Regions from separate parts of the Homo sapiens genome. Here region 2 is linked to region 1. Evidence: promoter capture Hi-C in 16 types of primary human blood cells and fetal thymus (Javierre and others, 2016). All regions are on one chromosome and are shown on one strand. Each heading gives the region's core, a stretch centred on a gene start or on the middle of the fragment in contact. The rest is flanking DNA. Distances are from core to core; before and after follow the strand shown.

The links. The method cuts DNA at HindIII sites, captures the fragments that hold promoters and counts their contacts. A CHiCAGO score of 5 or more calls a contact.
Region 2: a contact is called between a fragment that was not itself captured here and the fragment with the promoter of TMEM220 in region 1, in 4 of 17 cell types (endothelial precursors, M0 macrophages, megakaryocytes and 1 more). The highest score is 10.1, in endothelial precursors.

Annotation. Positions count from the first base shown.
Region 1 is chr17:10,728,015-10,732,259 of GRCh38, reverse strand. TMEM220 (transmembrane protein 220) reads left to right here and starts at 2,237. Exons shown (of 6, transcript NM_001004313.3): 1 at 2,237-2,480; 2 at 3,200-3,229. The coding sequence starts at 2,409. TMEM220-AS1 (TMEM220 antisense RNA 1) reads right to left here and starts at 2,483. Exons shown (of 4, transcript NR_073458.1): 1 at 2,360-2,483. RefSeq lists enhancers at 1,612-2,198, 2,199-2,785 and silencers at 2,179-2,418, 2,429-2,598. The HindIII fragment of the contact is 4,877 bases long and covers 1-4,245 here.
Region 2 is chr17:11,989,908-11,994,152 of GRCh38, reverse strand. ZNF18 (zinc finger protein 18) reads left to right here. Exons shown (of 7, transcript NM_001303281.2): 2 at 1,242-1,710; 3 at 2,990-3,179; 4 at 3,603-3,691. The coding sequence starts at 1,324. Among named protein-coding and RNA genes, the nearest start is that of ZNF18, 5.4 kb to the left of the region's middle. RefSeq lists an enhancer at 2,208-2,862. The HindIII fragment of the contact is 546 bases long and covers 1,679-2,224 here.

The sequences.
Region 1 (4,245 bases), core at 988-3,487:
GCAGTGGCTCATGCCTGTAATCCCAGCACTGTGGGAGGCCGAGGCAGGCAGATCATGAGGTCAGGAATTCGAGACCAGCCTGGCCAATATGGTGAAACTCCATCTCTACTAAAAAAAATACAAAAATTAGCCCAGCATGGTGGTGGGCGCCTGTAGTCCCAGCTACTCTGGAGGCTGAGGCAGGAGAATCACTTGAACCCAGGAGGCAGAGGTTGCAGTGAGCTGAGATCGTGCCACTGCACTCCAGCCTGGGCAACAGAGCAAGACTTTGTCTCAAAAAAATAGAAATAAAAAAAGAAAGTCCCAGACAACAGTGAAAACTATAAAACTTCATGGTGGTTGTATGGCATTCAAGAGCTTAAAAGCACTTCCATGCCATTGTTTCCTTGTGGGTATTATAATCATTCCCTGTATTAATTTGCTAGGACTGTCCCAACAAAGTACCACAGTCTAGGTGGCTTAAACAACGGAAATTTATTTTCTCACAGTTCTGGAGGCTGGAAGTCCAAATTCAGGATGTTGGTAGGGTTGGTTTCTCATGAGGCCTCTCCCCTTGGCTTGCAGACGGCCGTCTTCTCCCTGTGTGCCCATGTGGTCTTCCCTCTGTAACTGTCCCCTCTTCGTATCAGGACACTAGTCATATTGGATTAGGGTCCACCCTATAACCTCATTTTAACTTAATCATCTCTGTCAAGTCCCTGTCTGCAAATGCAGTCCCATTTTGAGGCACTGGGGGTTAGGGCTTCAGCATATGAATTGGGGGTGCAGGGGGAATGCAAGTCAGCCCCTAGCACTCTCGCTCTCATTTTTTTCTTTTATGTAAGGAAAAGCACAGTGAGAATAGTCTTCGCTTGTTTCCAATCCCAGGGCTGATTTAGCTGTGGAACTCCACCCAGTGCTGGTCCCCGCTGTCCCCACCCCACCTCTGCAAACACGGGTGCCCACCCCCGCCAGCCGCCAGGCTCCCTGCCTAGTCCCGGCACGGGACCTTCACGGTCCCAGCACCAGGCACAGAGCAGACAACGTTCTTGAAATAAGTGTTTCGTGAAAAGAATGAAACTGAGAGGGAAAGAAAAAAAAAACTAGACAGTTTTAGGAGATTTAGCTCAAAGGAAAAGAGGACAGGCACAGAAGCTCCTGATTTGAAGCGATAAAGACTCTTTAGAACAGCAGAAATGAGGCCTATGGATGTGTAAATGAGCCCGGGGAGGAACTAAGCAGAAGGGCGAATTACAAAACAGAAAAAGACCAGACAGACTAGGGGAGAACAGTGAATATTTCAGTGTCTTCGGTTCATAAGAAATTCATGAGCAATTTTGGAAATTTTGTTGGTTTTGGTGGTGGGAGAGAATTGTAAATATGTATAATATGTAAATATCTTTTATAATAAAAGCCCATGAAGATAAATGAGCCTGTCTGCCGAAAAGCTGTGAGCCGTATAAGATGTTAATATAACTGTCGTCACTCTAGAAATTACCATAATGCTTACAGGGATTTGAAAGTTCCTGAGCTTTGGAAGGAAATGCATAAATACTAAACAGAACACACACACACACACACACACACACACACACACACACACACACATCTCTTTTTCTTTCTCTTTCTTATTTTTGTAAAAACAATTTTTATCCTTTTTTTTTTGAGGAGTCTCGCTTTGTTGCCCAGGCTGGAGTGCAGTGGCACAATCTGGGCTCACTGCAACCTCCGCCGCCCGGGTTCAAGCAATTCTCCTGCCTCAGCCTCCTGAGTAGCTGGGATTACAGGCTCCCGCCACCACGCCCGACTAATTTTTTCGTATTTTTAGTAGAGATACGGGGTTTCACCATGTTGGCCAGGCTGCTTTCGAACTCCTGACCTCAGGTGATCCGCCCACCTCGGCCTCCCACAGTGCTGGGATTACAGGCGTGAGCCACTGCGCCCAGCCCTTTCTTTCCTTCTTTCTTTTTCTTTCTTTCTCTTTCTTCCTCTCTCCCCTCCCGCCTGCCTTCCTTCCTTTTTTCCTTCTTTTTTTTCTTTCTTCTTTTTTTTTTTTTTTGTGAGGAAGGTAGCTTTAGTGAAAACAGGGTTTGGAGTTGAACCTATACGGGTTCAAATTCGACTTCCGTCCACCACCGAGACCTGCGCTCCCTGAGGGACTCGCTTTCCCATCCGCGAAACCAGGACGGCGCCGCCTACACCCCGCGGCGTTCGGGGCGGGCTGAATGGGTCGCTGAGTGGGGGCTACACCCACGCCCTTCGCTCCCCGCCCCCGGGCGGAGCGACGGCCACGGCAGTGTCCCCAAGGCACCGAAACCGAGGCGGGGGTCTCGGTCCCTCCGCGCAAGGAGGAAGGCGGACCGTACGTGGCAGGACTCACCGCCCCGCACGTGGCAGGACTCACCGCCCCGCGCCGTGTTCTCCGAGCCATGGCGCCAGCGCTGTGGCGGGCCTGCAACGGACTCATGGCCGCCTTCTTCGCGCTGGCGGCCTTGGTGCAGGTCAGGCGGCCGCGGTGGGAGGGGGACCCGCCCGGCTCCCAGCTCCGCCCCCTGGCCTAGCGGGCCGTGTAACTGACTAGCGGGCAGAGTCGCAGGGGCGCACAGTTAGTGGGGAGGACGGGACTTGGGCTTTCTGCTTGGGGAGCCCCCACTTTCTCCCCCGTCTAAGAGACGCGGATGTGTTCATGGAAGCGAGTCCCATACCAGGGCTCACACCCTGGAAGGGGCTGGTTCCGCGCGTGGAACTTCCCAGGGGACCTCAGAAGAAGCGGCCCTGGCTCCTGCGTTAACGTCCGGCCCGCGGACGACACTGAACATATCTCAGGGCCTAGGAGACGAAGCCGACCAAAACCCTTTATAGCATCATTAAACTTTTTAGTCGGCTTGGGGACCCCCTTCATAATCATTTCCCTCATTTCTTGAGACTGGTGGGGGTGGAGGGCCCTTAAAATACCCGTTCTGGGTTGGCGAGTCCTCTCCAGAGCTCCCGTGAAGGCTTTTCAAAAATGTGTGGCTGCCTGTTAAAAACATCTGTTGTGTCAGCCAGAAACCCCTTCACCCGTCCTCATCTGGACTATATCCTGTTCAGATTTTGTACCCTCGATGCCTATTGCAGTGTCTGGCACTTAACAAATTAATAAAAAATGTGCTTAAATGAATTTAAAAGGAATGGAACAGCACAGGATGTCTGCTAACACCTTGGTATTCTGGCGTTCCAGGTAAATGACCCAGATGCAGAGGTGTGGGTGGTGAGTATGAGCCGCTTCCAGGCTTTCCTCCGTTTGGAAGAATTGGGGAACGGCACAAAACACACGGTTTTATGTCTTTACCCCTCCTCCCTGCTTAATTTTCTGAGAAACTTAAAAATCAAACCCTTGGGAAGCGCTTTTTCCTAAAATATTAATAGGCAGGATCAGAGTTCTAATGTAATGTGTGTGTGAATTTCGAACTTTCTGGAAACAGGTCTTTCTGCAGTATTCCCTTTGGTTAGATGGCCCAACTGAGGACTTTCTTGAGGACCTAGAGTAGGCCTCTCAAGATCAGTTGAACAATTCCTTATGAGTTTCTAGCCAGACACTCAATGCAAACCTTTGACCGGAAAATAACAGGCTTAAGTTCTGAGGTTCTGCTAATTCAGTGACTTATATTTCTAGAAAGTATTAACTCCTGGCTGGGCAAGGTGGCTCACGCCTGCAATCTCAGCACTCTGGGAGGCCAAGGCGGGTGGATCACTTGAGGTCAGGAGTTCTAGATCAGCCTGAGCAACATGGTGAAACCCCGTCTCCACCAAAAAATACAAAAATTAGCCAGGCGTGGTGGCATGCGCCTGTAGTCCCCAGCTACTAGGGAAGCTGAAGCAGGAGACTCGCTGGAACCCAGGAGGCAGAAGTTGCAGTGTGCTGAGATCGTGCCACTGCACTCCAGTCTGGGCGACAGAGTGAGACTCCATCTCAAAAAAAAAAAAGCAAAGAAAAAAAAGAAAAAAAAAAAGCAAAGAAAAGTATTAAATCCTGTAAAACCTACAGTCTTCATATAAGCAAGGCTCTGATTTGAACCATTTGGAGGAGGGGGCCATTGTTCCATACATCTTCTAAATATCTTTTTTTTTTTTTCTTTTTGAGACGGAGTTTTGCTCTTGTTGCCCAGGCTGGAGTGCAATGGCGCAATCTAGGCTCACCGCAACCTCTACCTCCCAGGTTTGAGTGATTCTTCTGCCTCAGTGTCCCAAGTAACTGGGATTACAGGCATGCGCCACCACACCCAG
Region 2 (4,245 bases), core at 702-3,201, 1.3 Mb before region 1:
CAAGTGATGGGGTATCTTTTTTTAAAAATTGCTGTGATTAGTCTTAGGGAGAAATGATGACCACCAAATTCTTCATAACATTTAAGGATTTACCCAGTAATCCTATATTGTGATTACTTGCAAGAAAGTTAACTAGAAGTAGTGGATGATCCTTTTTAGAATAATATTATTTGCGATTTAATATTTCTCTTTCTACTGTCTTAGTTGTGATCTTCTAAAATTTGATACCATTCACATAAAATAGTGATTATTTATATCAACACCATAGGAGTATTTTCAAGGTAGTTAGTCTTCTCAACCCTCTTTTTTTTTTTTTTTTTTTTTTTTGTGAGACGGAGTCTCTCTCTGTCCCCCAGGCTGGAGTGCAGTGGCGCGATCTTGGCTCACTGCAAGCTCCACCTCCTGGGTTCACCCCATTCTTCTGCCTCAGCCTCCTGAGTAGCTGGGACTACAGGTGCCCGCCACCATGCCCGGCTAATTTTTTGTATTTTTTTTTAGTAGAGACGGGGTTTCACCGTGTTAACCAGGATGGTTTCGATCTCCTGACCACGTGATCCACCTGCCTCGGCCTCCCAAAGTGCTGGGATTACAGGCGTGAGCCACCATGCCCAGCCTTCTCACCCTCTTTAACCCCAAGGTTGAAAGTGTCAGGTATGATACTTGTTTTTTTCATAAATTCTCAAATAGACCTATTTTAATATGGCACTCAAAAGACCTCTCTTGGAAGTTTCATTACACCTTTTTGGTATACTTTTGGAAGTACTTTTGGTACCTTTTGGAAGACTTAACTTGTTCTCTTTAACCTCCTATTTATTACAGAAGCATGTAGGCATTAGCTTTTATTCCTAGGGCATTAATATCTTTTTCCAGCTTTATTTTTTAGTATGCAGATATATAGATGAAGATGTAGAAGTGTTTTGTAGAAGAGCCGTTTACCTGGAAACCTATAGTGAAAAAGTTTCGTATGGTGCATTTTATTCTTCATTTTGTCTGGACATTTGAAGACCAAGAAAGAACATTATAAAATGGGCAGGGAAATGGTGGCTGTTTAGATACAGTATCAGTAGTTTGCTTTGTGGCTTCAAGTTTATAATCTTTCAAAATAGAATCGTGTATCCATTGAGCAATTTCAAAAGCTCCATAGTTGACCCCATGGCTTCTCGGGTAGGGCATGTGAATTTGTTCTTTCTGAAAATGTGTCCCCTTCCTCTGTGTAGCACTCAATCTCATTCCCTTTTTAGTGTCCTGGTGAAGACCTAGTTCTTGCCGGAGACAATTCCACTGCAGAAGCACTTTACTTAAAAGGACTTGCCAGGCTGGACAATGCCCGTTGACTTGGGGCAGGCCCTAGGCCTGCTGCCATCGCTGGCGAAGGCCGAGGACTCCCAGTTCTCAGAATCAGATGCTGCCCTTCAAGAGGAACTCTCCAGCCCTGAGACCGCACGCCAGCTTTTCAGGCAGTTCCGTTACCAGGTGATGTCTGGGCCTCATGAGACCTTGAAGCAACTTCGGAAGCTCTGTTTCCAGTGGCTACAGCCAGAGGTTCACACCAAAGAGCAGATCCTAGAGATCCTCATGTTGGAGCAGTTTCTGACCATCCTGCCTGGGGAGATCCAGATGTGGGTGCGGAAACAGTGTCCAGGAAGTGGAGAAGAGGCAGTGACCCTTGTGGAAAGCTTGAAGGGGGACCCCCAGAGACTGTGGCAATGGGTAAGCAGAGGGTATTATGATCTGCGAGTGAAACACAGGGCTCCTCTCTGGTCCCATCAGGTGTGTTGTCTTTTTTCTGATACCACTTATGACACAAAATGGGTGGGGCTTTTCACACCAATGGCCAATTCTGTGATTCTCTAACACCAGTACAGTGTCCAGCAATTCAGTTCTGAAGCTAACTCTGGAGGTTCAGGGCTCAATCCAAGACTGCTCCTGTTCTCAGATGCCAGTCACAAGTCCCAGGGGCCACCTGTACTTCTGACAAATTGGCTATAAATTCGGAGGTTCCCACAGTCTTCTCTTCAAGTTTGATAATTAGTTAGAATGACTTACAGAACTCAGGGAAGGATTTTACTTCCTGTTACTGACTTACTCTAAAGGATACAACTCATTAACAGCCAGAGAGAAGAGCTGCATAGAGCAAGGTGTGGGGGAAAGAGCGTGGAGCTTCCATGCTTCTCCTGGCGTGCTACGTTACCAGTACCTCCATGAGGTCACCAACCTGGAAGCTTCCTGAACCTCATGGTTTAGGGATTTTTATGGAGGCTTCACTGCTTTGGCACACTTGATACAGTCATTTGCCGTTGGTGATTGAGTATCTCCAGCTGCCCTCCCCTCCTCAGAAGCTGGGTGGAGATACTGAAAGTTCCAACCTTTTAATCTCAAGGTTGGTTCCTCTGGCAACCAGCCCCCATCCTGAAGCTATCTAGGAGCCTAGCATAAACTCAGGTGTGGTTGAGAAGGGCTCCTTATGAATAACAAAGACTCTTCTTTCACCTGTCCCTCAAGAAATTACCAGGGTTTTAGGAGCTCTGCGGGAATGGGAACTGGGGACAAAGACTAAATGTGTATTTCTTATTATACCACAGCTGGGTTCCCCCATACCTCACGTAATTCTAACACTCTCTGACTCTCAACACTCTTTAGCTATTGAGGATTGAGGGTAAAGTCTCCCAGCGCATTCCACCTTTAGACTAGAATGTTTGAGAAGTTATTTAAAAGATGCCTGAGTTTTCATTGGTGGCGCATATCCAGTAGAAGCACGTTAGTGGCATGTCTTGAAGGTCTCCCACGCCTGATTCGGGCCTCAGCTTTTGGTGTCTTTTGGGACGTTTCTTTCCCTGGTTCCTGCTGGACTAGAAATAAAAGCTGGTTTTCTCTTTCTCCACATCCTTAGAAATTGTCTTATGATCTGTTGTAGAGAGTAAGCTTTGTGTCTTTTAGAGATCCTTACTCTGGATTCTTCAGTAATTACTAATTAATATATGGTCTCTAGATCAGTATCCAGGTTCTAGGACAGGACATCTTATCAGAGAAGATGGAATCTCCAAGCTGCCAAGTGGGGGAAGTGGAGCCCCATCTTGAAGTGGTGCCTCAGGAGTTGGGACTTGAGAATTCATCCTCAGGGCCTGGGGAGCTTCTGAGCCACATCGTGAAAGAGGAATCTGACACAGAAGCAGAACTAGGTGAGGATGGTGCTGTGTGGTGTTCTCTTGGAGAGATTTTGGGATTGTGATTAGTAGGCCTAAGTGAGTTGAAATGGTATGCTGCTCAGATTGGCGTATCCCTGAGAGGTTTGCAAACAGGTTAGACCTAAATAAACCGCTCTTGTTTGGAGAGTCAAAGTCTGTGTTTTAAACTGCTTTATGACTGGGCCAGACCATTTGGATTTTGGCTCTGAGGAAGGAGGTGGGAGAACATATGGGTGAGACTGGAATGTTGGAGGGGGTTGGAGTGTGTCAGGGAGATAAACACAAGTCTTGAAATATAGATGGCAGTACAGGTATTGTTCAGGTATTGTTCTGATTTGTGAAGATTGTTATCTGCGCCCTCTGGGGAGTGGTTAAGGAAGACATCCAGATTCTGAAAACTTCCTCTCCTCACTTCAGCCCTGGCTGCCTCCCAGCCTGCCCGACTGGAGGAAAGGCTGATCAGAGACCAGGACCTCGGAGCCTCACTGCTCCCAGCAGCACCTCAGGTGAGCTGACGTACAAAAGCGATGAAAAGGAAACTTTTTACCTTTTATAATCTCATCCTCCTGCTTCTCTTCACCCCATTCTCCATCCTGAGGAAACCTCTGATCTGCTGTCTGTCACCATATGTTAGTTTACTTTTTCTAGAGTTTTGTAAAAATAGAATCATGCCAAATGTACTCTTATCTTTGTTCTTATGCATATAATGTGTATATATATACATATATATATATTTGCTTATTTCAGTGTATTCTCATTTTTTAAAACAATTTGATTTTGATGTGCCTTGGAGTCATTTTCACATTTCATGTAATTGGGATTTATTGAGTTTCCTAGCTCTGTGGGTGTATGGTTTTCACTAAACTTGGAAAATTTTTGGCCATTATTTCTAAAGCATTTTTTTTTCTGTCTCGCTTATTTCTCCTCTCCTTTAAGGACTTGGGAAATAATACCTGTGGAATGTGTATAATGATAATGTATATACATGTATCAGAGCTCTTCAAGTTGTCCCACAGCTTACTGATTGTTTTTCTGTTTTTGAAGTCTTGGTGTTTTATTT